Linked DNA regions of Homo sapiens: regions 1, 2, 3, 4, 5 and 7 are each linked to region 6. Evidence: promoter capture Hi-C in 16 types of primary human blood cells and fetal thymus (Javierre and others, 2016). All regions are on one chromosome and are shown on one strand. Each heading gives the region's core, a stretch centred on a gene start or on the middle of the fragment in contact. The rest is flanking DNA. Distances are from core to core; before and after follow the strand shown. Region 1 overlaps FBXO30 (F-box protein 30). Region 2 overlaps SHPRH (SNF2 histone linker PHD RING helicase). Region 3 holds the start of EPM2A (EPM2A glucan phosphatase, laforin). Region 4 holds the start of HEBP2 (heme binding protein 2). Region 5 overlaps CCDC28A-AS1 (CCDC28A antisense RNA 1). Region 6 holds the start of VTA1 (vesicle trafficking 1). Region 7 overlaps REPS1 (RALBP1 associated Eps domain containing 1).

The links. The method cuts DNA at HindIII sites, captures the fragments that hold promoters and counts their contacts. A CHiCAGO score of 5 or more calls a contact.
Region 1: a fragment that was not itself captured here is called in contact with the fragment with the promoter of VTA1 in region 6 in 1 of 17 cell types (total B cells); the score reaches 5.3 in total B cells.
Region 2: a contact is called between a fragment that was not itself captured here and the fragment with the promoter of VTA1 in region 6, in 2 of 17 cell types (naive B cells and total B cells). The highest score is 8.8, in naive B cells.
Region 3: the fragment with the promoter of EPM2A here is called in contact with the fragment with the promoter of VTA1 in region 6 in 3 of 17 cell types (total B cells, non-activated CD4 T cells and total CD8 T cells); the score reaches 14.8 in total B cells.
Region 4: the fragment with the promoter of HEBP2 here is called in contact with the fragment with the promoter of VTA1 in region 6 in 1 of 17 cell types (non-activated CD4 T cells); the score reaches 5.6 in non-activated CD4 T cells.
Region 5: a contact is called between a fragment that was not itself captured here and the fragment with the promoter of VTA1 in region 6, in 4 of 17 cell types (non-activated CD4 T cells, total CD8 T cells, fetal thymus and 1 more). The highest score is 10.9, in non-activated CD4 T cells.
Region 7: a fragment that was not itself captured here is called in contact with the fragment with the promoter of VTA1 in region 6 in 1 of 17 cell types (total B cells); the score reaches 13.0 in total B cells.

What each region holds. Positions count from the first base shown.
Region 1 is chr6:145,808,029-145,811,959 of GRCh38, forward strand. All of the region lies in intron 1 of FBXO30 (F-box protein 30), which reads right to left. All of the region lies in intron 1 of EPM2A-DT (EPM2A divergent transcript), which reads left to right. Among named protein-coding and RNA genes, the nearest start is that of FBXO30, 4.8 kb to the right of the region's middle. The HindIII fragment of the contact is 245 bases long and covers 1,324-1,568 here.
Region 2 is chr6:145,958,030-145,962,256 of GRCh38, forward strand. The region is part of intron 1 of SHPRH (SNF2 histone linker PHD RING helicase); the gene reads right to left. Among named protein-coding and RNA genes, the nearest start is that of SHPRH, 4.2 kb to the right of the region's middle. The HindIII fragment of the contact is 5,758 bases long and covers 1-4,227 here.
Region 3 is chr6:145,733,288-145,737,211 of GRCh38, forward strand. EPM2A (EPM2A glucan phosphatase, laforin) reads right to left here and starts at 2,233. Exons shown (of 4, transcript NM_005670.4): 1 at 1,911-2,233. The coding sequence starts at 2,211. EPM2A-DT (EPM2A divergent transcript) reads left to right here and starts at 1,582. Exons shown (of 3, transcript NR_038246.1): 1 at 1,582-1,633. RefSeq lists a silencer at 1,708-2,297 and enhancers at 2,458-2,517, 2,528-2,577, 2,598-2,647. The HindIII fragment of the contact is 8,125 bases long and covers 1-3,539 here.
Region 4 is chr6:138,402,863-138,407,109 of GRCh38, forward strand. It overlaps HEBP2 (heme binding protein 2), which reads left to right and starts at 1,361. Exons shown (of 4, transcript NM_014320.3): 1 at 1,361-1,735; 2 at 2,283-2,418; 3 at 3,109-3,289. The coding sequence starts at 1,634. It also overlaps the pseudogene MARCKSL1P2. RefSeq lists enhancers at 55-575, 1,097-1,617 and silencers at 777-846, 977-1,826. The HindIII fragment of the contact is 19,528 bases long and covers 1-4,247 here.
Region 5 is chr6:138,765,256-138,769,264 of GRCh38, forward strand. All of the region lies in intron 1 of CCDC28A-AS1 (CCDC28A antisense RNA 1), which reads right to left. Among named protein-coding and RNA genes, the nearest start is that of CCDC28A-AS1, 6.4 kb to the right of the region's middle. RefSeq lists an enhancer at 3,431-3,490. The HindIII fragment of the contact is 730 bases long and covers 1,036-1,765 here.
Region 6 is chr6:142,144,824-142,148,639 of GRCh38, forward strand. It overlaps VTA1 (vesicle trafficking 1), which reads left to right and starts at 2,440. Exons shown (of 8, transcript NM_016485.5): 1 at 2,440-2,576. The coding sequence starts at 2,465. NMBR (neuromedin B receptor) reads right to left here and starts at 2,299. Exons shown (of 4, transcript NM_002511.4): 1 at 2,221-2,299. RefSeq lists enhancers at 2,169-2,463, 2,227-2,366, 2,621-3,141. The HindIII fragment of the contact is 1,973 bases long and covers 1,869-3,816 here.
Region 7 is chr6:138,982,994-138,986,877 of GRCh38, forward strand. The region is part of intron 1 of REPS1 (RALBP1 associated Eps domain containing 1); the gene reads right to left. Among named protein-coding and RNA genes, the nearest start is that of REPS1, 3.3 kb to the right of the region's middle. The HindIII fragment of the contact is 4,162 bases long and covers 1-3,652 here.

The DNA of each region.
Region 1 (3,931 bases), core at 196-2,695, 3.7 Mb after region 6:
GGCCAAGGCAGGAGGCTCAAATGAGCCCAGGAGATTGAGGCTGCAGTAAGCCATGACTGTGCACCCCTGCATTCCAGCCTGGGTGACAGAGTGAGGCTCTGTCTCAAAAAATAATAATAATAATTGAAATAATAACATAATATCCCCCCTTTACCACCATTTTTTTTTTCTTATCCAGTCAAACTTTCAAAAGAAAAACTGAAAACCACCAAAAAAAAACGTCTAATTTCCTATATATTCTTTAACTCTCTATTCTGGCCCCATTTTTACTACCCCTATTAAAACTGCTCTGCTGAGAACCTCAATACTAAATCTGGAGGCATATTTTTCTAGACCCCATCTTCCTTGGCCATTGTATCCTGATGATGACTAATCCCTTATTTTAGGACTATTACATCCTCTTACTTTTCATGATGTCACTCCAGTCTTTCTCCTACCCTTAGTCTTCTTAACTATTACTCAATAATAATTATTTAAATATTGCATTTCTTCAGGGCTTGTGTCATTTTTTGCTTATTCTGTACATTCTCCCTGGGTGCTCTCATTTTCTCCAAAAGTTTCAATTACCATACATAAGCTGAAAATCCGTCTATACATGCTGCCCAGATTCCTCTTTCAAACTCCTCTTCACTCTCTACAATGGATTACTTATGATATATTTCTACTTGTATATGGCACAGGCAACTCAGTTCAACATTTCCAAAATTAAATTACATTGTAGTAGACAAGAATTTTCTGGATAGGAAGGTGATTCTTATCCTGTTTTCTTCACCTCAGTGCGTAAGAGATTATTAACTCTCTGACATATTTTTCCATAAAATCTATCTTGGCTCCAGGTAACTAATTAATCACTCCTCAATTGCTATTATCTTTTTCTCCAGTTGAGGTATGAGTTTTCTCAAACTAAAATAACAAAAGTGTACCTGAATCATCATCAACAGAGCTTTTCTTGATTCAGTAGAAAAGTTCCGAGTTGATATTATGGTGTTCAATGATGTCAAAGAAAAGACAAGGTATATATTCAACGCCAAACCTATATTTTTTAATTGTGTTAAAAACTACAAATTATGAGTTGAATACTTTTAAATGTTTATCTTCATGAATTTTAGACATAAGTATAGAAATATATAAATAGACATACTAAAATAGTCATATAGAAATAAAAGACTAATAACAAACATTTGTAAATTAACCAGACATTTAAAGAAAAACTTTATTAAGAATTATGACAAATCTTACTGAGTGATTAGACTGTGAAAACAGCTGTAGCTTTCTTATTTTGCAGGAACTAGACTGAGTTGATCTCACATGCTGAAGGTTACAAGCTTGACTGTTACTAAGGGAGAAACCTAAAAATACAAGCAGTTTCACCAGAAGTAACCAGTGCTCTCAGAAGTTTTAGGGACACTTTATGTTACTGTACACACCATCACATGACATCACCAGGCAAAACATATCTTAAAAACATCACTTAATTCAAAAGTGCTTAAAATAGCAACTGCTTGCAACAGGGTCTGAGTTAAAAGCAAAAACAGCAATAATTTTCAAAGGTAGAAGGAAAGTAGTCAAGCTTCAAACAAATAGTCTCTTTTACACTACCCATCCCCCTTTGAATAAGGTTTCAAAAAAGCATCCATAGCAACAAGTTCATAACATTTATTATTTTCTGAAGTAGACTTAGAAGGAAGAGAGAACAGTAATTATGTACCTATTTTATCCTTCTTTACACATCTTTATAACAACCTGGAGGAAACTGAGGTTCAGAAAGAGCAAGTGATCTGCCCAAGGTCATCTACCTAGTAAGTGGCAGAGCTAGGACTGTATGTTCTAGCTCCACGTCTGATCAACATCCATGGACAATAACAGGTATGTTTACTTATAAAAGTTTAAAAAACTTAGGCAGCACTTCTGTAACTGGTGATCCAATGTTAAGATGTTATGTGAAGAATGGAGATTACACAACTTTGCTTGTAGTTTATCCCAACACTTAATCACTCCTGTGGTCAAGAAAGTCTTTTGGTCCCTTCCAATTATAATAGCATTTTACTCTGCTTTGAATATATATGTTTTAAATTATTTGAAGAATAATTTACATAGATAATGCTCAGTATAAGTGTATGGAACATTATATTACTAAATTTAACAATTATTAAAATAGCCATACAAATGAGGAGTGAATTTCAATTCCATTTTCCTATTAACTATATTAAGAAAAAAGTTAAGAAAATATAGTAGTCAATACTCAAGAGTATTCTGGGAATAGAATCCTCAGCTTCAGAATTTAAAACTCTCCTAGATTCATCCTCTTCCTAATCAAGACCACTACTATCAAATTAAACATGCCTTTATAAAGTATTTTGCAATTGCTTGTAAATCCTGTAAAACAGGTTTAAAAACATCAATCTCTTATTTATCAGTTAACAGTGACACAGTAGGCACAGTAGAAAACAACTAACATCTCTAATAATTTATATTTGAATTTAAATTGTTGGAAAAGTTTCGCTGGACCAGAAAATATTAGTAAATCATCAAATGTTTTCAATTCTTTCAATTTTCTCTGAGAGAAGTTCTTTGCCAACTCATACTCTGTGGCTGACAAGCAATTCATTAAAATAGTTCTAAGACATGGCATTTTCCCATATAATGAAATGAGATCTTGTCATTAAAGGCATAAATATATTGCCCTCAAAAAAGCATTTTTAAAAAATTCATTAAAATACATAAGGAGGTAAGTAAATATAAAGAAGTGCAAATTAGCATGATTTTAAAATATAAGAGTCATCTAATGTATTCAAAATAACCTGCTGCCTCCAGGCTGTTCCTAATGTCTGCCTCTACCTCTAACACACAGACACAGACACACATCCCTTTTCCTCCCCACACGCCCCTGCTGCCTCAACCCTAAGTCTTGGCTTACCTGTTACTTTTCCACATACTCCAAAGACAAGGTAATGGATCCCATATTGTGTGTACTCATTACATACTGTCTTTTTCCTTGGTAATACTAGTGACAACTCTAAGTAAGTCATCATTCTGTATAATATCTATTTCCACAGGAAAGCTATAAGCTCCATGAAAGTCAGAATCATCTCAGTCTCATTCATTCTTATGTTCCCTACATTCAAAATTCTGCCTCAATTAGAGACTCATTTGTATTAAATATACGAAGAATTATAATATAAGAAAATAATGAAATGGACAAATGAGATTCTTCATTTCACAGAAAACTACATATTCCACATAAAAATACCTTACAGATCTGGCATCAATCAAACTGAATCAAAATTACTTCATTGTATTGGCCATAAAAAGTCAATGGTGCTCAAACACATGTTAAGCACATAAGTAATATGTTCCAGGCATTATATATGGAGTAGGACGAATCATCTATCAAAAAAAGCAAATCAAAGAAAGTCAGTTTCAACCTTCCACTGTTTTAAAATCTTAAATAGTAATATGAGAAACATAGGAGGAAGCATTTACCTTATATTTTTCCACTATTTTAATTCCCTCATCAACCCTGCAGATCAATTACTGGAAAAATAATGAATATAGAAGCACTGGGTTCAAAAAGAAAGGAAGGGATTAAGGTCTGCATATGCAAAGGTGCCCGATTAGGGTAGAGAGTGAGAAAAGTAAGTTTAAAATAGGAAGTGCTATCAGCCTACAGCTTAGTATTACAATTAACATGGTATTAGATAAAATATACTTAAAACAGTAATATACTGTTCCAATGTAAGGCTGATATAAAACTATAGACAGATTTGTTCAATTAATTAACCATTTCTACAAGTTAAGTCCACAAATGAAATTTCAAATTTGGCAATCAGTTATAAGCTCTTCCAGTGCAAATCTCATCCCTTGTAAAGTCCAGAGGTATTAGTGCATAGTACCTCTGGTGACTGATCTGTTTATCAGGTGCACTCAGCTT
Region 2 (4,227 bases), core at 775-3,274, 3.8 Mb after region 6:
AGCATTATGCTAAACTGAAGAAAGCTAGATGTGAAAGACTATATACTATATGATTCCATTTACATGAAATTCTAGAAATGGCAAAAACCTGATTGCAGAAAGTAGATGAGTGGTTACCAGGGGCAAGGAAGTATAAAGAGGTGACTGACAGTAAAGGAGCAGGAAGGCAGGCTTTGGGGTGACATAAATGTTCAACACATGATTGCAGAGTATACATCTGTCAAAACTCATCAAATTATATACTTTAAATTGAATTTTCTTATACATAAATTATATCATAAAGTTGATTTAAAGAGCAAAAACAAAAAGATGCACGAGATTTAGAAATTTTAATATTAAGTATAACTTTATTCAATAAATCTGAAAAATCTAGATAAAATGATAAATTATAAAGTGATAAAATTTTGCTAACAAAATACAAATGAACAAAACTGGCCCAAGAAGGAAAATATGAATAGACCAATAACCATAAAAGAAACTAAAGTGACATTATTTACCTGCCTAAGGTCTATCCTCCTTCCCTGATGACTGAACCTTTATTTAGGAACAAGGTGGCCCTATGATTCAAAGGAAGTGATTTCCTTGGCACCTCCAAGGAAGTAGTTTCTAGCTACTATTGGCCAAAGCAAATCCAATAAGGTAGTTATTGGCTGCATGTGACTACTTAACTTTCAATACAGTTATGCATTGTATAATGACATTTTGGTCAATGAGGGACCAAATATTACAGTGGTTCCATAAGGGAGCTGAAAAATTCCTATGGACTAGTGACATCATAGCCATTGTAACATCATAATGCATTTATTTATTTATTTATTTATTGAGATAGAGACTCACTCTGTTGCCCAGCTGGAGTGCAGTGGCGTGATCTCTGCTCACTGCAAGCTCCACCTCCTGGGTTCATGCCATTCTCCTGCCTCAGCCTCCTGAGTAGCTGGGACTACAGGCGCCTGCCACTATGCCCAGCTAACTTTTTTTTTGTATTTTTAGTAGAGACGGGGTTTCATGTGTTAGCCAGGATGGTTTTGAACTCCTGAACTCAAGATCTGCATGCCTCAGCCTCCCAAAGTGCTGGGACTACAGGCGTGAGCCACCGCGCCTAGCCGCATTACTTTATTTTTTAATAAACTTTGTGTAGCATAAGTGTACAGTGTTTACAAAGTCTACAGAAGTGTACAGTAATGTCCCAGGCCTTCACATTCACTCCCTGACTAACCCAGAGCAACCTTCAGTGTTATAAGCTGCATTCATGCTAAGTACCCCACAAAGGTGTACTATTTTTTATCTTTTATACCATATCTTTATTGTACATTTTCTATATTTAAATATGTTTAAATATACAAATACTACGGTGTGACAACTGCCTACAGTATCCAGTACCGAATATACTGTACAGGTTTGTAGCCTAGGAGCAGCAGGCTGTACCATAGAGCCTAGGTGTGTAGTAGGCTGGCGGTACCACCTAGGTTTGTGTAAGTATACTCTTAAGATGTTCACACAACAAACTTGCCTATGATGCATTCCTCAAAACACAGCCCCATCATTAAGTGATGCATGACTATAAATAAAATTAAATGTTATAAACTCAGCTCTTCAGTCTCACTAGCCCCATGTGCTCAGTAGCGCTATGTGACTAGTGGCTACTGTACTGGACAGCACAAATATAGAGCATTCACATAATTGCAAAAAGTCTATGTATCAGACAGTGCTTGTTTAAGTCAATCATGAGAATTCTATTCCCTTAGCCCGTGCTTCACTTATGAATGTGCAGGTGATGGATTAAAATCAATCCTTGGCTATGGTCAACTACTTTTAAAGCATCTTATCCTCTCTTATCTTAGTGGAATAATATAGAAAGCTCTTAATTTCCTAAGTGTTTATGTTTGTCCAGTTTTCCTCAAAGCATAAGCTGGAATACTGAAAGTGGGTCACTCTGCAGGAACTTTAAAAAGTTATGCTATAGTAGCTTATCAGTTAACTACTGCCACAAACATGCTGTGTAACACACTACCTCAAAGCTCAATACCTTGATATAGCAATCATTTATTCTCATAGATCTGCACATTAGCTGAAGGAGGCTAATCTAGGCTAGGTTTCTGGAAAAGCAGTTTGGCTCTGCTTAATGTAGTTCCTATCCCCTCTCCTTGGATCAGCAAAGTAACTCAGGAATGTTCTTTATGGCAATGGTTGAGGTGTATTACTGCAAATCCAATCACACAAGTAGTTTTCAAAGTGCTTAAAAACCACTAAGGTGCCACAGACCAAAGCAAGACATATCCATGGACCCAATGTCAAGTGGTGAAGAAATATACTACACCTCTTTACTAGGTGAAACTGCACATGGCAAAGAGCATGGATATGGGGGGTGGAAGGGTAGAGGGAGTGTTGGAAGGGAATTGGGCCAGTTACACAATGTATCACACTAACCATAATAATATTAATAACATGGTTATTGTGGAATCATTAACTCTGAAAACCCAAAAAGCAACTGTCTAGCAGAGTCTCACATTAGCAAAGCGATGTGGCTTAAAGGTGAGAATGCAATGCTTTGAAGTCTTATATTCATTCTAATTCCAGCTTTGGCATTTACTGACTGTGTGGCATTGGAATAGTTATCCAGTCTTCTGTGCCAATTTTCTCATCTCTAAAATGGGGATGATAGCAGGATTGTGGTTAGAAATAATTTAAGTACAACAGCAGTACTAGAAATTTGGCCTGTATTCCATAAATGGTAGTTGCTACTTATCATCATCCTGAGAACACTCTAAACCAGCAGTTCCCAACCTTTTTGGTACCATAAATGGGTTTCATGGAAGACAAGTTTTCCATGGACCGGAGGAGAGGGGTGGAGTGGAGAGGGGGTTGTTTAGGGATGAAACTATTCCACCTTAGATCATCAGGCATTAGGTTTTAATAAGAAGTGCACAACCTAGATCCTGCGCATATGCAGTTCACGATAGCATTCATGCTCTTATGGTAATCTACTGACTGTTGATCTGACAGGAGGCACAGCTCAGGTGGTAATGCTCGCTTGCCCGCAACTCACCTCCTGCAATGCAGCCCGGTTCTAACAGGCCACGGACTGGCACCGGTCCATGGCCTGAGGGGTGGGGACCCCTGCTCTAAACCACATTTCACAATAACCAAACTGTAATGTCGCAGGATGGGGGACCACAGATTAGTGCTTCTCAAACTTGACTGCACATTAGAATCACCAGGGGAACTTAAAAAAATCCTGATGTCGAGCCAACTAAGTCAGAATGTCTTGGAGAAGGGCCCAGGCACTACTCCCTTTATTTTTTAGAATCCCTAAAAAATTCCAGGGTGCAGCCAAGTTCAAAAAACCTTGTTATGGATAACCAGCTGCCAACTAAAATCCACTTATTTCCACTCAAAGTATAGAGTAGTTGAGAAATGACTGCCCAGCTTGGTTTGGTCCTGTGACCAGTCCTAGCCAATGGAATGTGAGAAGTAATATGTGCCATGTTTCCCACAATAATTTTGTAACAGACATATTACCAAACCAGAAAACATTACTTCAACTATTTATTCTGTTCTCTGGTAAAACCTATCCAGTATCTTTTAAATTATGTACACCATTATAATTTGCACATTCCTTCAGATGTATTCTTTCAGCCTGATTCTTCCAATATTAGTGCCTCAAGGTACTTATCAGTGATAATGATAAACTGCAGAAAAGTCAACACCAGAATTTCTAGCAATGCTCTCCCTTTGTCCAGTTCTTAACTGAGTAAACATTCATGATCAAAAATCAACCAACCAAACAAAAAGCTCCTGGTTTTGACTGAGTCTTTACTTAAGGAAATCTCTATTCAGGGTTAACTTCTTGAACCAAAGAAAATAGTATTTGGTCAAATATACTTATGACTAAAATGCAATTTGGCAACTAGTAAGTCAAGTACTGGTGAAATTCTGTATCTAACCACATCCCATATTCTTCTGGTTTTATTCATACCTTATCAGTCACAACTACTTCTTCCTCCTCCTTAATTAGCAGTGTTTGGGTAAAACGTAATTATGTGAAGTTTTCTATATGGACCGCACTTTTACTGTCTTGTATTTAAATATAAAAGCCTTTTGCTTGAATTGCTTTTATGCCTGTCTCCATCCCAATCTTCCCTGGAAAGGCTTCCATGACTAGAGAAGCTGAGTTAAGGGCCTCTCTCTCCTCGATCCCAACTGCTAGAGTGTTCACTTTGAAAGATG
Region 3 (3,924 bases), core at 983-3,482, 3.6 Mb after region 6:
AAAAACTGAAAATAATAGTAAAAAAAAATCAGCAGGGAAGACAGAGAGTGAACTTGAGCTAAATTCCTCATATTTCATAACAAGTGTGATGGTTAATTTTATGAGCATCCAGTAGGTGTCAATATCTATTGCCTAATTTTAACTTTTAAAATTATATATAACTTATATGGTAACTATTAGAAAAATTAAAAACAAAAGTTTGTGGTACCTTAAGAAATAGCAACATAAGCAAACTATTAACGGCATAGGGAGGACTATCAGAAAAGCTAAATAACTAGGGAAAGGGAAGATCTTTGTTTCACACCATTTCCATTTTTATTACAATTATCAGATATTATTTTAAAAAATAATTCTACAATACTATGAAAAATAGTAATACTCTGTAAAGAAAGGATAAACTGAAGAGGGTATCTTTCAATTCTGTCATGGTAAAATAACAGACCAATAAATGCTACCAGACCATAAGCCCAGTGAGGTAGAGAAGGAGAACAAGGATAATATATAAACACATTCCACTCTAATCTTCTTTACTGATTCTTTGTTTCTACATCATTACAGGCTAAATGGCCCATTTTTTTTTTCATATAAACTTCTAAAGAGACATTCATTTCATTGACTTCAACTATTGAGTCACACCCACTCCAGTCTACAACCTTGCACATTTCCTTTAAAGAAAGGAGCTGTCTCAATTCAGACACTGTTGGCGGGAGCCGACATTAGATAATCACCCTTTTAGGGCATAATTTAGCAGTCTTTAATGAAGTGTTAAAAAAAATGACTGCATTTTGACCTAATAATTTCACTTCTTTGAATCCACTCTGCAGAAACACTCCCGAATGTTCAAAGATATCTGTAAAAGGAATTTCAATTAAGCCACTACTGTTTACGACAGAGGAAAACTGAAAAGAACCTAAATGCACATTGGTAGATGCAGAATAATTTGTTGCCATTTAAAATATACATCTACATGTAAAATACATATCTACGTGTAGTGACAGTGAAAGATGTCCCTAACATATTGTTAGGCAAGAAAAGCAAAAATTCAGAATTACTATACAATTTTTGTAAAAAAAAAAAGTATATGCATATATCACATACATAAATGTGTACAAGCAGTGTGCTTAAGATGTGTGGAGGAAACACTGTAAGTTTTCACTATGTACATTTCTTTATTATTATTTTACAACCAGCATGTATTGTTTTAGTATTTTAAGAAATCAGGTCATGTCTCAATTGTCATATATCTGGGATTAAAAAAGAAAAAAAAATCCAAAAAGGGAAATATTCAACGTTTTTCCATTAGTTCATTCTCAATATCTATGAAAAAAATCTAAGTAGCACATTGCTGTCTAGGATTAGCGAAAACGCTAGTTTCGTTGGTTGGATCGTTTTGGGTTTTTTTTAGTGAATTAGAGCAGGAAAATGAGGACACAAAACCCAACCAAGGCGGAGTTGGGCTGTTGAAGCCATCAGCGGCGCGCGGCCGGGCAGCCAAGGGACCCGCGAAGGGGGGGACTCGGAGGTCGAGGGGCACTCGGAGGGCGAAGGGAGCCCCGGGCGGGAGACGAAGGGCACTGGCCCGTGACGCAGGCGCGGTTGGAAAGAAGCTGAGGACTGGATGTGCGGAAACCAGGTCAGAGGGGCAGGCAACAGAGTGGGCGGGAAGGCGGCCGGGAGCGCTATACGGGTCTAGGGAATCAGTAGGAAGCCGGAGGCGCGGCTGGCGGCGACAGCGTGGCCGGCAGAGCAGGGTCAGCCCAGGTCGCCCGGGGAGTGCGCAGGGACGCGGGCAAAAAGCCCGGGACGCGCGCCGCCGGGGCCTGCGGGGCCTGCCCGAGGCCGAGGCCCCGGTTGGGGGTGCGGGCCGGAGCTCCCGCTCTGCGCCGGGGGCAGGCGTCTGCTGGCAATACCTTCCCAGGAGAGCTCTCCTCCCGGCTCCCGCTTCAGGAACTTGTACCAGAACGTGTCCACGCGGCCCGGCTCCGCCCCGTCCTGCGCCGCCTCCTCGGCCGCCAGCTCCACCTCCCCGAGCCACAGGCCCGGCTCCTGCAGGGCCAGGGCCCCGTCGCCCGCCGCGGTGCCGGCCGGCCTCAGGCGGACGGCACCGCGCGGCTCCCAACGCCCCAGCTCGGGCCGCGACCCCACCACCAGCAGCTCCGGCCGGGCGCCGGCCACGGCGGGTGGCACCACCACCCCAAAGCGGAAGCGCATGGCGGGCGGCGGCGGCGCGAATACCCGGGCCCGGAGTCCCCGCGGCCGGCAGGCGCGGCCCGAGCACTAGGCGGCCGCAGCGATTGGGCGGTGGTGTGGGAGCCCCGGGCACCGGGGAGAACACGTGCTGTTCTGCGCCTTCTTTGGGATGCATCACGCGGCTCCCGAGCCCAGACTTCGTCCAGGCCGGCGGGAAGGGGTCAGCGGAGCCGCTAGCTGCCTCTTTGTGCCCCGCAACCCCGCGGGCGGTTGATTTCCACCTGTGGGCGCTGGGGACACGCGACCGGAAGAAATGGAAGAGAAAACGGGGTTCGGGGAGGGAGGAAAACTTCTAAGCCAGGCGATCGTCCAGTTCTCTCTCCAAGAGACTGGAAATTAACTTTATGAGGATCATAAGGAAGGGAATGACCTCTAGACAGCCGCCTTCTAATTGTGAAACGGGGGAAGATCTTGGACCTGGTCTCTGGAGCGCTCCCTATCTTAACCAAGTCACTTACTCTAGCAGGTCTCAGGTTCTTTGTCTGTAAAATGAGGGTGTAAAATAATGATCTTTCTAGACCCTACGAGCTCTGAAGGATCTCTGATTGGTGGAGATCACCCAAGACCCGGAGCTGATGCAAAACATTACCTACCATTCCCTTGTCTGAAAAGCCACATCAACTTTCTTTTTTCAAAAACTATATTTTTAGTATGTGTAAAGTAAGTTTGGAGTAAATACTTTCAAGTCCTTTTCAAGGTCAAAACAAAAACTAATTCTGTGACTACAAATGTATGCTTTTTTTTTTTTTTTTGAGACAGAGTCTCGCTCTGTCCAAATGTATGCATTTTTAATGGAGTAAATTAAAAAAAAAAACCTTTGTTTAAAATTTACTTTCAGCAAAAGTCAGCATTATTTTTTCAACTTAAAACCTTTTTGGGTTTTAAGTTGAAACAGGTTTTTTAGCTGTCTGGCCCAAATCCAAAATACGTATATCTTGGTGGGGAACTTCAATTTGTCTCTGCCATAAGACAAACGAATGTCCTGATACTTTTTGATTCTTTAACAAAATTATCCTTGTATTCTTAGGTTTATATATTCACTAACATTTAACATAACACAAATCTGTTACGTGAATTAAAGACACACAAAGGCATTTTTACCAGTGTTTGGAAGTTTGTGAATAGTAAAGGGGAACAGGCCAAAATTTCATGCGTTGAGGATATAAGTAAAACAGAAAGTGCAAAAATGTAAACTACACAAACTCAATCTCTTGTGGAACAATTAGAAAACTAATAATACATTTTACTCTTGAATGTTGATATTCCACTCGAAGTTTGGTTGGTTGCTAAGCTTAAGGATAAACACTATGAAAAATGTGAAGACAGAAGGGCTGGCCAAACACAGCTGATTCGGCAGCAAATCACACATTAAATCACAGTGGCATGTGAGTCGGTTTATTCAAATTGCTGTTAAAAGATATTCTTAGAGTAAGTTTAGGAAAATAAGAGTCATTTGGCGATGCAGAGAGGATTTTGTCTACAGTGGAATCCAGACTCCGGTGAAAGTTCTCATTCCTTCAGGACCTGGGAGCTAACAGCTCCGGACTTTCTTGTGCTCCACTGTGCTGCCTATGTTGTGTGCTTCCCAAATGGCATTATTCCCACCAGCTCTTCCAGAGTGAGTTCTGCCCATTCTGTAGAAGAAACAGTAGCGGAAAAATTAAACAATATCTT
Region 4 (4,247 bases), core at 111-2,610, 3.7 Mb before region 6:
GCTGCTCTTAGAAACCCTTCTTGAAAGATAATTATTTATTTATTTATTTATTTATTTATTTATTTATTTATTTATTTATTTTAGACAGGGTATCACTCTGTTACCCAAGCTAGAGTGCAGTGGCGCAATCTCGGCTCACTGCAGCTTCGACCTCCCCAGGCTCAAGCCGATCCTCCCACCTCAGCCTCCCGAGTAGCTGAGATCACAACCCCAGCACACTCAGCTTTTTTTTTTTTTTTTTTTTTTTTGGAAGGCAGCTATGCTCTCCACTCTACTATCAACGCTATTTTATTGTATTTTTGTAGAGACGGGTTTTCGCCATGTTGCCCAGTCTGGTCTCGAACTCCTGGGCTCAAGCGATCACCCCTGTCTTGGCCTCCCAAAATGAAGGGATTACAGGCGTGAGCCACCGTGCCTGGCCTTGAAAGGCAATTTCGTCTTCTTGGAAGTCTCCTTGCGAGGGAGGGAGCCTCCCCTTTGGCCTCAGCACCCTGGCTAGGGGGTGCTGGCTCCATGGCATTGCCAATGGTCCCGGCTGCCTCTTCTGTTCACAGGGGCCTACTCCCCTTCACCCTTGGGGGATGTCACCATTGCTTTTCACGTGGCCACCCTCCTGTCCGTTGGCTTTCGCGTGGGGAGTGCCTGCTGCCTCTGCGGCGGTCACGTCGCCCCGGAGAGCCTCGGAGCTCTGGCTGCCCACGATGGGAGTCCTCTGGGGGGCGCCGGAGCCGTGCCGGGTCCCCGCCGCAGGGGACAGTAACGCGGAGTCGGCCTGGCCGGCGGAAAGGGGGTGCTGGGGAACAGAGCCGCACCCCACTCGGCTCGGGAAAGCCCTGGTAACCAAAATTCTTGAAAAGCACTAGTGTCTGGCCTCGGCACTAACTCTCCCCGAGTCTCGTTAAGCCTGCGGGGATGACTCAGAGGGTCTGGGGTCCTGTCGGGGAAAAGTTCAGAAACCAGAACAGTTCCAGATTCTCTCCATGTGTCTGTGGTCCCACCACCTCCTCCGCAAGGGACCCTGAAAGCTGTCTGGGACCTAGGACAACTTCTTGGGATGAGTACGGCCATTCGCCCTGGCTGAGCCCCAGGAGTGCGGGCAGGGGCCGCGGGGGTCGGGTCGCCAGCCGCCACCTCCTGCCTTTCTCTGCCTGCGGTGCGCTGGGACACCCTCGAGGCGGCTCAGCGCCCGCGGTTCCCAGCGCGGGCGGGGCCGCGGCAGAGGTTCCCAAACCGGTTGCACAGAAACAGCGCCACCCCCTACTGCCCGCGGGGCCACCTGTGTGTGCCTTTCCTTCAAAAACAAAGGCGGGGCGGGGGCGGAAGTGCCTCAAAAGAAGGCGGGCCGAAGCGAGGTGCGGCTCCCTGTCGCCGCGGAGGGGCGGGGGCAGGACGCGCAACTCCGGCCGGAGCTGTCCGGGGTCGTGAGCCGGCCCCGCCTTGGTGGCGGCGCCCCCTCGCGGTCCAGAGGCAGACGCATCGGGTGGGCTCGGGTCTCCAGCCCGGCCGGGAGGAGGGACCGGGTCTGCGGAGCGGGGACTCGGGGCCTCGGCGGGGCGCGCACACGCAGGCGGGGCGGCCCGGGGTGCGGGGCCTCTGCGCGGCTGACCAGGCTCCCAGAGCGTCAGCGCCGCCCATGGCCGAGCCGCTCCAGCCAGACCCCGGGGCGGCCGAGGACGCGGCGGCCCAAGCTGTGGAGACGCCGGGCTGGAAGGCCCCGGAGGACGCCGGCCCCCAGGTAGGCGCCGACTCGGGAGCGGAGGGGCTGGGCCCGCCTTCCGGCTGATTTGCAGTGAGGCCAGCGGGTCCCATAGAGTTAAGTAAAAAGTACAGTTTTTTAAATGGTCCCAGTCCCTACCCACTATGCTACGCAAACGAGAAACCCCGGTCATTTAGCTCTACCCTCCCCGCTACCCCCAGTGCAGGTCCCATCTCAATTTCTTGTCTTTGCGGGGTGGTGGGGCGGGGAGGAACTGGTTACGTCCCAGAACGCGCGGTGGAACCCTCCGAACCGAGGGGGTGTAATAGATGCTTGTCTGAAAGTGTGAATCGAGTCCCCAGCGTGTGGGGTTGGGGCCGCTGCGGTCCCTAATCGCAAGGAGGGGAACCTCGTGGAGGGGAACCTCCCAGACCTAAGGAGCGGGGACCTCAGGCCGGACCCCGGGGCGGTGCAGCCCCTAGACAGGACGGCTCCAGGTCGACCCGAGATCATGGCACCGGTATTTTTGCATCTCACTCCTACCCTCTTAGAATTGCTTCTCGAAGTTTTCTCTGTTCCACTTTAGCCCGGAAGTTATGAGATCCGACACTATGGACCAGCCAAGTGGGTCAGCACGTCCGTGGAGTCTATGGACTGGGATTCAGCCATCCAGACGGGCTTTACGAAACTGAACAGCTACATTCAAGGCAAAAACGAGAAAGGTAAAAGCAGTTTTCCTTGTAATTATGCATATTGTGAAAGAGTCCCCGGGCTTATTATTGAGTTTTAGCTTATTAAAGAAATATCCTTTATAATGGAAAAATAAGCAAGTCATCAAAGACTTGTCTTGTTTTCAGACAAGACTCCTCAGGACCAGGGTTACACTGGGTATTACTTTTCAACCTCTGTTCTCTGATTTTGCTGGATGAACTGGGGTTTGGTGTAACTCGTGATAAGTCCTTTTCTATGGCTAACACCTCAAGATAATTTGGTGACTGGTAGGATCAGAGACGTCAGGAGGCAAGAAGGTACCAAGATTAGAAGCATCAAGTCATAGCTTTTGGTCTGGCTTTGCTGCTATTTATATTTTAGCAGGTCTCTTAGCCTGTGGGACCTCATTTTCTGAATGGTAAGAAAAAATAATTTACTGACCATGTAATCTCTAATTTCCCCTTTTATCTCTAAAAATTAAGAATTTATTAACCCAGAATATCAGTATTACAGAAAGTGGTTTAATGTGGGCAGTGAGCAATTGAGTAATTTTGGCCTTACTGTTTTAAGATGAAAATTATCTTAAAGGTAAATATGTCAACAATGTGAAGTAAATCAAGGAACCCAGATCAAAAAAGAATAGGTTAAATGTTTAAAGCTGTCAAAAATACACTAAATTTGCTTTCATTTTTATGTCACAGAGATGAAAATAAAGATGACAGCTCCAGTGACAAGCTACGTGGAGCCTGGTTCAGGTCCTTTTAGTGAGTCTACCATTACCATTTCCCTGTATATTCCCTCTGAACAGCAATTTGATCCACCCAGGCCTTTAGAGTCAGATGTCTTCATTGAAGATAGAGCCGAAATGACTGTGTTTGTACGGTAAGTGGTAGATAATTTATAGCCTTGCTGACTGCTAGTTTTACTTGCGTGCACTCACAGTTTAGCTCCAATGCAATTTCAAAAGGCTTTTTCACCCTTCCATAAAATCAGGTCTAATGCATTTTGTGATGTTTTCCTACTGGCTTTGTTGTATATGTTACTGAGGTCTGTCACAAGATAATAATCACTTCATTTAATGAGTCTATTGCATGCCCTTCATATAAGACACGGTGCAAATTATATGCTCCCAAAACAAAAGACTGCAATATAGTTAGACCTGAACAAAAATACCTTAAAACAGAAGTCTTAGTTTGTTCAGGCTGTTGTAACAAAATACCGTAGGCTGGGTAGTTTATGAAAAACAGAAATTTCTCTCTCACATTTCTGGAGACAAGGAAGTTCAAGTTTAAGGTGCTGGCAGTTTCAGTGACTGGTGAGGGCCCGTTTCCTGGTTCATAGATGGAACCTTCTCAGAAATGCCCTCATGTGGTGGAAGAGGCAAGGCAGCTTTATTGGACATGTTTTACAAGGCTCTACCCTCATGACCTAATCACTTTCCAAAGGCCTCATCTCCTAATACTATCACATTAGTGATTAGGTTTTCAAAATATGAATTTTGAGGCCCAGCACTTTGGGAGGCTGAGGCAGGTGGATCACTTGAGCCTGGGAGTTAGAGACCAGCCTGGGCAACATGGCAAGGCCCCATCTCTACCAAATGTATATATATATATTAGCCAGGCCTGGTGGCACATGCCTGTGGTCCCAGCTACTTGGGAGGCTGAGGTAGGAGGATCACTTGGGCCCAGGAGGTCGAGGCTGCAGTGAGCCGTAATTGCACCAATGCACTCCAGCCTGGGTGACTGAGACCCTGTCTCAACAAAAAGAAAAATGTATATATGAATTTTGGGGAGACACAAACATAGAGTTCATAGCATTCTGCCCTGATCCTGTAAAATTC
Region 5 (4,009 bases), core at 151-2,650, 3.4 Mb before region 6:
TCAGGCTAAATTTTTTATTTTTGGTAGAAGTGGGGCCTCCCTTAACGTTCTGTTATTTTGGAATTAACAGTAACAACAGAATATTTGTTGGTAAGGTTGCCAGATTTAGCTAAGGAAATTACAGATCTCTCAGTTAAATCTGAATTTCAGAAAAACAAGGAAGACTTTTTTAGTGTATGCACTACATATTGCATGAGACATATGAATAAAGTATTCCTTGTTTATCTGAAACTTAGATTTGACTGGCCATTCTACTTAATCTGGTTACCCTGTTTGTTGAAAGTTAATTACTTCTTTATGAAAAAAAATAGGGTCTCACTGTGTTGCCCAGGTTGGTCTTGAACTCCTGGGCTCAAGCGATGCTTCCATCTCAGCCTCCCAAAATGCTAGGATTACAGGAATGAGCCACCGTGCTTGGCCTGGAAGTGAATTACTTCTAAACATATTACTGCTCTCTGTCTCTTTCTGTCCCTGTGTCTCTCTCTCTCCTCTCTCTCACTCTTTCTCACTCTCTCTCTCACAAACACACACACACACAGATTTTCATACTTTGAAGAAATCCATACATTTTGTAAACAAAGCACACCAATTTGTATTTACCTTCAAGGTTTAGGAAACTGGTTGAATTCAGGAACTACCAATAATTCTCATTTATATTGAAATTGGGGAATAAATCTATAATCTCATGTAATCATATTCTATCACTTACTTAGTTCTGTACAATTATAGAAATGAGCTACAGAATTGAATTTTTATTTTAAATACATTTCTGTTCTCCTTTCTCAAAAAGTAAATGGAATCTGTGGTCTCAAAACAATTTAATATGATAAAATACTGCCACCTGGAGATCAGAGGCAGGTATGACTAAGATGAACCTGATTTCCAATTCTGGAATAAGAAATGTGAGTTATGTTGACACTTGATTTAATAATGCCATTCTGCCACTTGGTATCATATGAATCTAATTTTTCCTCATTTATTCATTCATTTAATGAACATTTGTTAAGTTTCTGTTACATGCCAGACACTATACTAAGCTTTGAGAATATAAAGATGTATACGACCTACTTCCTTCGAGCGGTTTGTCATTTTCCCATTCAACTTGGACTTAGTCTAAGCTCCTGCTTCATCTGACACAGTTCAGTTTTTGGACTTCCTTATTGTTACACACATTTCATCTTCAATCTCCATGAAATCTCCCAAAGATGTGGAACACAACCCCTTTTCTTTGATTATCATAATGATTCATTCATGACAAGCTGTGAGCTTATAGAGGACTTATGTTGCTGTCTGGGAGCATGGGGGATGTGTGTGCCTGTGTGTGTGTCAGTGTGTGCATTTACAGTAACATTAACAGTTGCAAATTGAATAACAGACTTTCTCTTTTTAAAGTCTTCCTCCTTCCTACCACTTTGACAGGCCTTTCTCCCTCTGCCTCTGACCTCTTTTTTTTTTTGGCTATCTCTTAGCAATAATCCCAACCCCCAAACTCACCCCAGTGAACAATTCTTCCAACTTTATTATACAGAATAATTCAATGTTCTCAATCTCATATCCTTAAACTCAGCCTCCTGCCCACCTGTGCACATCCAACTCTCAGACAACACAATGGGTCTTCTACCTAGAGTCTCATCCCTTCTCTTGCCCCTATATTTAATATTTCCCCACTGACAGGAATTATGCCAATTTCTTAAAATTCAGAGTGGTAGCAGTTTGGGTTTTAAACAAATACTTTAAAATAGAGATATAAACGAAGTGTTATGGAAGCTTTTTCTTTGCTTCCCTTCCTCCTTCCCTCTCTTTCTTCTCCTTCTTTCCTTTCTTCTTTCTCGCCTCCCTTCCTTCCTCTTCCTCTGCTATATTGTAAGCTATCTCTACACATATTTCTTAGCAGCCTTGTGGTTCTCCATGATAATACTGCTGAATTTGGACTAAAATTCAAGAAAAAGAGAGAAAACTGAAGGAAGGGTTGTAATGCACTACTGCCAGTCTGCTTACCCATGATATCCTTTGCTGTCTGGTTAAGTCTGTAACACAAACCTTCTTCTAAAGCTGGAGTGTTCATGTGGCAAGAACCAAGAACCTGGATACAGGATACTGGGAGAACGAATCATCTTCCTATCTTGCTGATAACCATCCCCTAATCCTGTTTACTCTTGGCCTTAAAAAGGAAGTCTGAACTTGAAGTTGGATTAAAAGTAAATTTTGTAGAATCATAACCTGAAACCATCCCAAATATTACGTTTTTTTTTGTTTTGTTTTGTTTTTTAAAGAACCAATCAGTCAATGATTCCCCTAAGCTTTAGGATGGTTTCCTTCTTCAAACCACTTGGCAGAAAGGCCGGTGTAGCCAGAATTGCTCTGCTAAGAAAAAAAGAGCACTTGCCTGGGCAGTAGTGATGCCATCTGATTAGCATTATGACTGGGCCTACTTTGGTTTAAAGAGGGGTTGCTGGAATCACTTTACTTTCGGAAATAAAATCAGGAAGTTTCATTCATTCCTACCTCATTTATTGAGCACCTACTTTATGTTATGTTCTTTGCAATGTGCTTAGGATACAAAAATCAAATAAAACATATTTGCCCTCAAGGAAGTTATAGCCTAGTGATGAAGGCAGTTTATAAAAAACCATATATGTAGGAATGTTGTAAATGTCTATCCATATAACTTATTATTTTTTTTTTTTTTTTGAGATGGAGTCTTGCACTGTCACCAGGCTGGAGTGCAGTGGCACAATCTCGGCTCACTGCAACCTCCGCCTCCCATGTTCAAGCGATTCTCCTGCCTCAGCCTCCCGAGTAGCTGGGACTACAGGCATGTGCCACCACACCCAGCTAATTTTTGTATTTTTAGTAGAGACACGGTTTCACCATGTTGGCCAGGATGGTCTCCATCTCTTGACCTTGTGATCCGCCTGCCTCAGCCTCCCAAAGTGCTGGGATTACAGGCATGAGCCACCGCACCTGGCCCATATAACTTTTAAAGTCTGATTTTGCCCCTTGTTTTTCCAAAGCCATTAACAACAACAACAACAACAAAATACTTAAATTGGTAAGGGCCTCTGTGTTCATTTTTGGGCCTCTCACTAATACTTAAGATGTACAGCCTAGAGGCTGGGCACAGTGGCTCATGCCTGTAATCCCAGCACTTTGGGAGGCTGAGGCGGGGGGATCACGAGGTCAGGAGATGGAGACCTTCCTGGCCAACATGGTAAAATCCCGTCTTTACTAAAAATACAAAAATTAGCTGGGTGTGGTGGCACCTGCCTGTAATCCCAGATATTCAGAAGGCTGAGGCACGAGAATCGCTTGAACTTGGGAGGCGGAGGTTGCAGTGAGCCAAGATTCTGCCACTGCACTCCAGCCTGGTGACAGAGTGAGACTCTGTCTCAAAAAAAAAAAAGTGTACAGCCTGGAGTAGACAAGAGATGGGGTTTCCCCCAACTCCCGGTCTGGTGCACTTTCCATGACACCATACCATGCTCCTCCATAAATGGTGGCTCCCAGCTCTTCACCACGTGGTTCTTCCTTTCACTATTAACAGTTCCCAAAAGGCTTGCTCATCTACAATAGCACAGCTCTGAAGGCCTTCAGTGCTGGATAGTTCAGATCCAGTCTCTTGGCACCCTTTTTAGAGGGTGTCTCAAGGAATCTTACCAAGTTTTATAATAGTAGTCATAGTACAGTATGGCTTTTGAAATAACTTATTTTTTCAGGTCTGAGCTGTAAAGCAAGCCTATATAACACCTCACTATGGCCCATTTCTCTTAACTGGCCTTCCTGTTTCCATTCTTCTATAGAATAATCTTTTAAAAATGTAACTTAGACCATGTCATGCCTTAAAACTCTCCAATGCCTATTGCTGTGCTTAGGGGAAAAAATACAGATTTCTTATATTGGTTTAAAAAACCCTTCCTGACCTGACCCTCTGGCAACCTTGGGGACTTCATCTCATACTACTTCTTGTCCCCCTGCACTCCAGACCACTACGCTGGCATTCTTTCAGTTC
Region 6 (3,816 bases), core at 1,190-3,689:
AGTATCACTTGAGACTAAGAGTTCAAGACCTGCCTAGGCAACAAAATAATAATAATTAGCCATAGTGTTATGTGCCTGTGGTCCCAGTTACTCAGGAGGCTGAGGCAAGAAGATCCTTGAGCCCAGGAGTCCAAGACTGCAGCGAGCTCTGATAGTGTGCTGCACTCCAGCTTAGGTGACAGAGTGAGAACCTGTCTAAAAAAAAAAAAAAAAAAAGAAAGAAAAAAAGAAGGAAGGAAGGAGAAAAGAAAGAAAAGAAAAGAGCATGTGTTGGCAGATCAGAGAGTAAAATCCAACTCCAACCATTTCACTTTCTTATTTTTCCCTCAGTCCTGCTCATGAGGGTATGCAAATAAGAGTACACATGAATGTATGCAAATGAGAAAGAGTGGCAAAATTCACTTCTGAAGGGGGAGATCAGGAGAGTAACAGGAGGGTGCAGCCTTCTACCAGGAAGAGGAACATTTGTTTCTCAGACATAAGATGATGGAATAGAGAAAAGATAAAACATAAGATCTAGAAAGACATCATAGTCAAGTAGTAATGGCTAGGTGCACAGGCTCTGAAACCAAAATACCTAGATTTTAATGTGGAATACTCATCCTTCCTGGCTGTGACCTAGTGCAAGTTATCTAGATTCTATGTGTCTTATTTTTCTCATCTGTAAAATAATAATGATATGTTCCTCATAGGGTTGTGGTGCAAATTAAATAAATTAATATAAAGACCCTAGAAACATGCATGATACATAGTTGATGCTCAGCAAATGCTGCTAGCTAGTTATTATTACTTTAAGTTGTGGTAGAGGCAAGGCAAAATAATTCATATCTGGTGGTGGCCTTAATCTCAATAGCAGGAAATGCTGTTGTAGACCAAGGAAATTGGGGCTGAGTGCCTAGCTTGAATAGAGCGAGAGAAGTTTGAAACACCATCTGTGGACTACAGCACTGGTCCTTAACCCTAGACGTAACATTAAAATTACATGAGGACCTTTTAAAGATACTGACATTTAGGATCCCACCTAGAACAATTAAGTGAGAATGCCTGGAGTGGGCTTTAAAGTTGATCTTTAAGGGCAGCTGCGGTTGAGAATCAAGAAGTAATAGGAAACAAATAAATGAAAAGTTGTGAGTATAGAAAGAAAACAGTTATGGTTATCCAACTCTGCTTTTCTTCATTGATTTCTCTACCAATCTAGCAACTTTTGACTGGAAAGTCCAAATAGTGGGAGTAAGAGAAAGAGAAAGAAACCATACATTCTCCAGTGGTAGGAAATATGCCGCTGAGATTGGGGAAGAAGACAGAACTGAGTTTCAGGCTGAGTAAAAAAGCCCGACCCAGAATAAGATGATGGACTTTGCAAATAGGTCTAGGCAACGTATGTGGAGTGGGATAATATGAGGACATGGAGCGGTTTCTTCTGGGGGTGAGAGAGTGATCAGAAAATAGTAGGCAGAGGGGAATTTCCGAGCTGGAGATTTTGGCTCTTGGGGATAGTGTGATTTCAGTGAAAACTAGTTTTAAGATGAATTGTCAAAACTGAGGACTGAGATAAAATAAAGAAGGTTATTGGAGGAAGTAAATAAAGTGTACAGTCCTGAAAGATATAAGTAAGGGATGGAGAGGAGAGGAAGAGAATTGAAGTCATTGAGGGTAGAAGGAAAAGTGATGCCTACTGTACAATGGTTAAGAGTTACCAGCGTTGAAAACGTCCCAAACACCCTATCTTACATTAAGACAAGATAATAAATATGAAAATACTTTACAAATTGTTAATCACTCTCCAGAAAAAAAAAAGGTGATCTACAGATTATTCATTCACTAAAATACGTACTAGCCAGCTGAGAACAAAAGTTCAATCTTCTTTAAGCTTCATATGTTTAGCTTAATTTGGCGCGAAATCTGATTATTTTATCCAGTATGTCAACATAGAAAAATTTAATTTACAATTTAAACACATTATTTCTCTCTCATGCAAGTATTGAAATTAAAGTTTCTAAAATCAAAAAGGCTTCTAAAGGACACTGCTATATGGAATATTAATGTGGCATATTAACTGGAAGTGGTAATTCCTGAATGACGCCAAAGGCAATTCTCGCCTTTATACTTTCTCCCAGTCAACATACATTATTTTCTTGTTTTTCCTTTTCTATCCTTCCTTTTGCCACAAACAACAAACCAAACAAAAAAGCAAAACAAAACAAAAACCCTTCCTCCTACCAGCAGAGAGCGCTAGCGCCATGCGCGGCATAAGCGCCAAAATGCTCGGGTCTTCTGTGGGTTCTAACCGCCGAGAGCCAAGCACCCTGAGGTTGTCCCAGCTGGGGATCCGTAGTTGACTTGACGTCGCTGAGCAACGGAAGAGTGGGCAGCATTTGCTCTGAACGCTCGTGCGCGCTACCGCCCAGACGGAAGCGGAAGTGCCGGTGGAGCGCGAGTAGGAAGTGGTGAGTTCGGAGTAGAGATGGCCGCGCTTGCACCGCTGCCCCCGCTCCCCGCACAGTTCAAGAGCATACAGCATCATCTGAGGACGGCTCAGGAGCATGACAAGCGAGACCCTGTGGTGGCTTATTACTGTGAGTCTTTCCGAGTGGCCGCGCCCTTTCTTTCCCAGTTGCATTTTAGGGCCCACACACCTCCCTGAGGTTCTTGGGGCATGCCCCGCCCCCCTCGCTTTAAACCTGAGCTTTGACCTCGAGCCTACCCAGGGAACTCCCTGGGTTCCCACCCCCTGGCAGTAGGAATCCCAAAACACCATGGTGTCCACTGCTTCTCCTATCTTGTGCTTAAATGCTCCAGTACTGACTACACAGGCTCTTGAACTGTGGAATATAATCTTCCAAGGTTTTCTCTGTGTGTGTACACACAAGAGCTTCTTGTCTCAAATAGGAATCCTGAAAATAAATTGAGTTAGGTTTAAAACGAAGGTGAGTGTCCGAAAGAAGGAGTGATGTGGATAAAAGGACGATAGACTAGTTGAAAACATAGTAATAAGTGAATATTATTTATGACAGCATGCAAGCCCAATCAGAAACTCATTTGGTTAAATGGGGAGTATCTGCTACTAAATAAGCAGTTGAATTTGACCTTTCCCCACCCAGCTGCTCTCTCCTACCATGCAGAATTTTTAGTTTTGACTTCTTTGAATAATACCCGCTGTTGAGACCTTTGAAAGCAGTATTTTCACTTTGAGTGTTATACGTTGAATTTACAGTTTGATTAAAAAAAATATAGGTTAACTCTGCTCAAACTTGTAGTGAGTAAAGGGAGTGCCAGTAATTCTGTGTTAACTTTATTTTGTATTCTGTACTCTTAACTTTACTGCAAATAAAACAAGTAACTGGACAATTATAATTCTGAAAAGGATATTTAGAGTTGAGAAGTTGGATATAATGCGTCCATTGTTGTGTATATTGTAAGGTTAGCTAAAATCTGGTCACTGTTATCTCTGCCATACTCCAAATGTACCCTGTTTCTCAAATGTGCAAGGCCTTTTCAGACCTACCATCTTCCACTCTCTTGGAATGTGCACCTTTTTCTTGCACTTGGCAAACTCATGATTCAAGATCTAACCCAAATGTCACCACTTCTGTGGGCAGCAAATTGATTATTCTCTGTGCATTACTTCATTTTGTTCAAATTTTACAGCATCATTTTTATTATACTTGTTCTTCAGTTTCCTCAAGCAGGGTCCATATTCATTCAGTATGTGTTCATTGAGCTACCTTTGTATCAAGCATTAGTAGGCGCTGTGACTACATTTGCTGCATTTTTGGAGCTTACATACAATGGAGGTAGAGAGTTTCAACAATATAG
Region 7 (3,884 bases), core at 322-2,821, 3.2 Mb before region 6:
CTAAAATCCCTACTGTTCATAAGAACTATGGGGAAGTCAAAATCAGACCAACTGAATTTTATTCCTCACCCTGCTCCCAAACCACATGACCAGAGAAGGTAAGAGCTGGGACGTGAATAATAGTAAGGGAGAGATACGAATATTCACAAATAAATTATTTAACTTATCTGCTATCAAGTTCTTAGTGAACAAGAATAAGCCTGTAATCCCAGCACTCTGGGAGGCTGAAGTGGGCAGATCACAAGGTCAGGAGTTCAAGACCAGCCTGGCCAATATGGTGAAACCCCGACTCTACTAAAAATACAAAAATTAGCCGAGTGTGGTGGTGGCGCATGCCTGTAGTCCCAGCTACCCAGGAGGCTGAGGCAGAAGAATCGCTTGAGCCTGGGAGGTGGAGGTTGCAGTGAGCCGAGATTGCACCACTGCACTCCAGCCTGGGCAACAGAGCGAGAGACTGTCTCAAAAAATAAAAATAAAAATAAAAATAAACAAGAATAACACCCACTTCACAAGGTTGTTGCAAGAATCAAATGAGTTCTTCCATGAAAATGATTTGCCTGGTTAAAGGAACATAATAGGCACTCGATAAATGCCAGCTCCTTCCTCGTTTGGTTCTGGACTCGGTGTTATTTGTTCTCTACACTCATGCCCCCAGATGACTCAGTCTCCTCCTAACTTTTACTAACAAACACCGAAAACTACTGTACCAACCAAGGTCCTGATATGTATGTGCATGCCCAGTCTATGTGACACTGTCTCCCGTCCCTAAACACTTAGGTGAGCAAAACAGAGGAAGAAATCCCGAACCTCTGAACCTGAACTGCTGTAAGAACCAGCAGTTGGGGTGGACAAATCTCCACCCACTTCCCACTGTCTCCAAGAGATCTGAATTGCCATCTAAGAATGTCTGAAACCAAACTCATCATTGTCTCTTTTAAAAAGTAAGCCCTCTTCCTGCCCCTTTTCTAACTGTGAGTGGTGTCCAAAGAATAATCCTTGCCCCACTGTATTCTCACCAAAACACTGCCAAATAACCCAGGCCTATCACGTTTACCTTCATAATCTCTACCATCTCTCTCTCTCTCTTTTTTTTTTTTTTTTTTTGAGACAGCGTCTTGCTCTGTCATCTAGGCTGGAGTGCAGTGGCGCGATCTTGGCTCACTGCAACCTCCTCCTCCTCCCAGGTTCTAAGTGATTCTCCTGCCTCAGCCTCTGGAGTAGCTGGGATTACAGGCATGCGCCACCACATGCGGCTAATTTTGTATTTTTAGTACAGAAAGGGTTTCACCATGTTGGCCAGGTTGGTCTCCAACTCCTGACCTCAGGTGATCCACCTGCCTCAGCCTCCCAAAGTGCTGGGATTACAGGCATGAGCCACTGTGCCCGGCCCATATCTGATTTTTTGTCCCACTCCCACCACTATAGTCCAGGTTAGGGTTTCTCAGTCTCAGCACTATTGACATCTTGGGCACATAATGCTTGTGGAGGCTGTCCTGTGCACTGCAGGATGTTTAGCAACATTTCTGGCCTCTACCCACTAGATGCCAGTAGAACTGCTCTCTCCCCTCTAGTTATGACAATCAAAATGTCTCTAGACACTGCCAAATGCCTCTTCCCCATTGTCACCTTCATTCCCATGTTTGAGTACCACTGGCCCAGTTTCTCACTTCGTATCTGCCATACAAAATCAGCCCCCAAGTTAAGTCTACAGTTTTATTCCTCTAATTCCTGTGGCCCTGACAAACGACTCCTAAAGCACTGCTTTATGAGTCATTTCTCTTAAATCTACCACTCCCTGTTACCTACACAATTAGTTCAAAGCTCTCCATCCAACCTTGATAATCTGGCCTCAATTAAACATTATTCCACAAAGCACCTCATATAGTGGCTACCCAGCAGTCCTTCAATAACATATCCAGTCTCTCCCTTTCTATTCTACTGCTGTCACCCTGGTTGGATGTCCATGACCTAGCACCCAATCCAGACCACTGAAAGAGTGTCATTCCTTACCCTTTCTGCCACTCAAAGTCAAAAACTTTTCAATGGGTCTCCATTGCTTGCTGAAATATCGTTATCTGCTGCCCTTCTTCAGAGTCTTTCCCAATATGGCCTCTTTCTAATTTTATATTCTGTTATCCCGAAAACACTAGTCCTTGAAAAGGCTCCTACACTTTCCACTTCTGATCACTTTTCTCTGCCTGGAAGCCCTCATAATTCCATTCCCCTCACTCCACCCTAATTTAAAGTCCATCTGAATTAAGTCAAAAAGCCTTTCTTGGTCATACCTCCTTAGCATTTCATAACACTTGGCACCTCTCCTATGGCATACATTATACCTTATGTTATACATGAGCACTCCTATAATTGACAAGATCCTCAAGAGCTTCTTACTCCTCTTCTGATGCCTGCAATGCCTAGCCCAGTGTTAAGTAGAGAACTAAGCATTAGATATGAGCTGCCCCAAATGTTTCCCACTTAGAAAGCAATGGAGGACTGTGTTTTCAGACAATCCCAAACTCCCTTAAGGGAATTAAGCACATATTCTCCTTTTGTCTCATATTTCTATGTCTTAGACCAATTTTTAAGTAAATTGCCTTCAAGATATCTAGACTGCTATTTAGTATACATAACTGTAAGAGTTCTGCTCCAGGGAGTTCCAACTTGTAACTGAACCCTGAATATTTAAGCTCTCTCTTTATGCCAAAAGACAATGGAAATTTATTTTTTGAATGTTAATAAAATTGAGCAAAACATAAAAATAACTTGCACTGAATTAAACATGTTTGAAGTAAAGATTCATTAATGCTAATGTGTCTGTCCTAAAAATTACATTTCAAGTTCTAAAGTCTTTGTGTACCCATTAAAAAGATTGAAAGTTTTATTTCAACTCTTTCTCACCTCAAAGACAAACTAAAATAGAACAGAGAAGGCTTTTCCTTAATTTTATTTAGATCCTAACTTGAAGGTATACTTTGTTATTTCTTCAAAAGGAGCAAAAAGAGTATGATTAATGAGCATGTTCTGACCAGATCTCTAAGTCCTACTCCAAAGCTGTAACAGGAGAGTACCATAGACCACACTACCAGCACCCTTCGTTAGCAGACCACAGGCTTTGTTTTGTATCTCCCTGAGCTAAGAATGGCTTTACATTTTTGTGTTTTGTAAACACAAGAAGAAGAATATGCAACAGAGAGCATATGTGGCCAGCAAAGCCCAAAATATTTACTATTTGTCCCTTTTCAACAGGATGAATTTGGGACTCCTCGTTGCCCTTCACTGGCACGTAAGACATCCCACCTTTAAAAAAGCAATGTAAAACACAAGACCATTTAAAAAGATCGAACTCGTTCAACTTAGTCATAGTTAATGCAGACTTAACTTCTAAAACAGAGACCTGTGTGTGGACATTTTTATTCTTCACAGAATTTTTGTTGGAAGAAACTTGCCTTCATTCTGTGGATGAACATACTTATGCTTGAAAATGGAAAGTGCCTGACCCAAAGTCACACTGCTGGTTAACAGCAGAGTAGGGTCAAGGACCCAGCCTTCAAAACCCTGGTCCAATGCTTTGCAGTCCACTACATACACCTATACATGTGGCTTTAAATTTTGGAGATGTGGATAACTAGCTTGGATCAATATAAAAGATGAAAGCTTAAAACCTGTTCCTAACATACTGTTTAGACAGACTCCTACTAGCAGCTATGAATCATTAAACAGAGTAGCATTAATGCTCACCACATACATTAGATAAGAACTTCTAGGAAGTCCTCTGTTTCAAAAGCAGATATGATAAAAAAAGGCTTTAAACCTACAGGGTTTGCTCCTCCAGGGCTTCAGATTAGGGCAAATAACGCACTTCTGCCTACCAGCTGTTCAATACT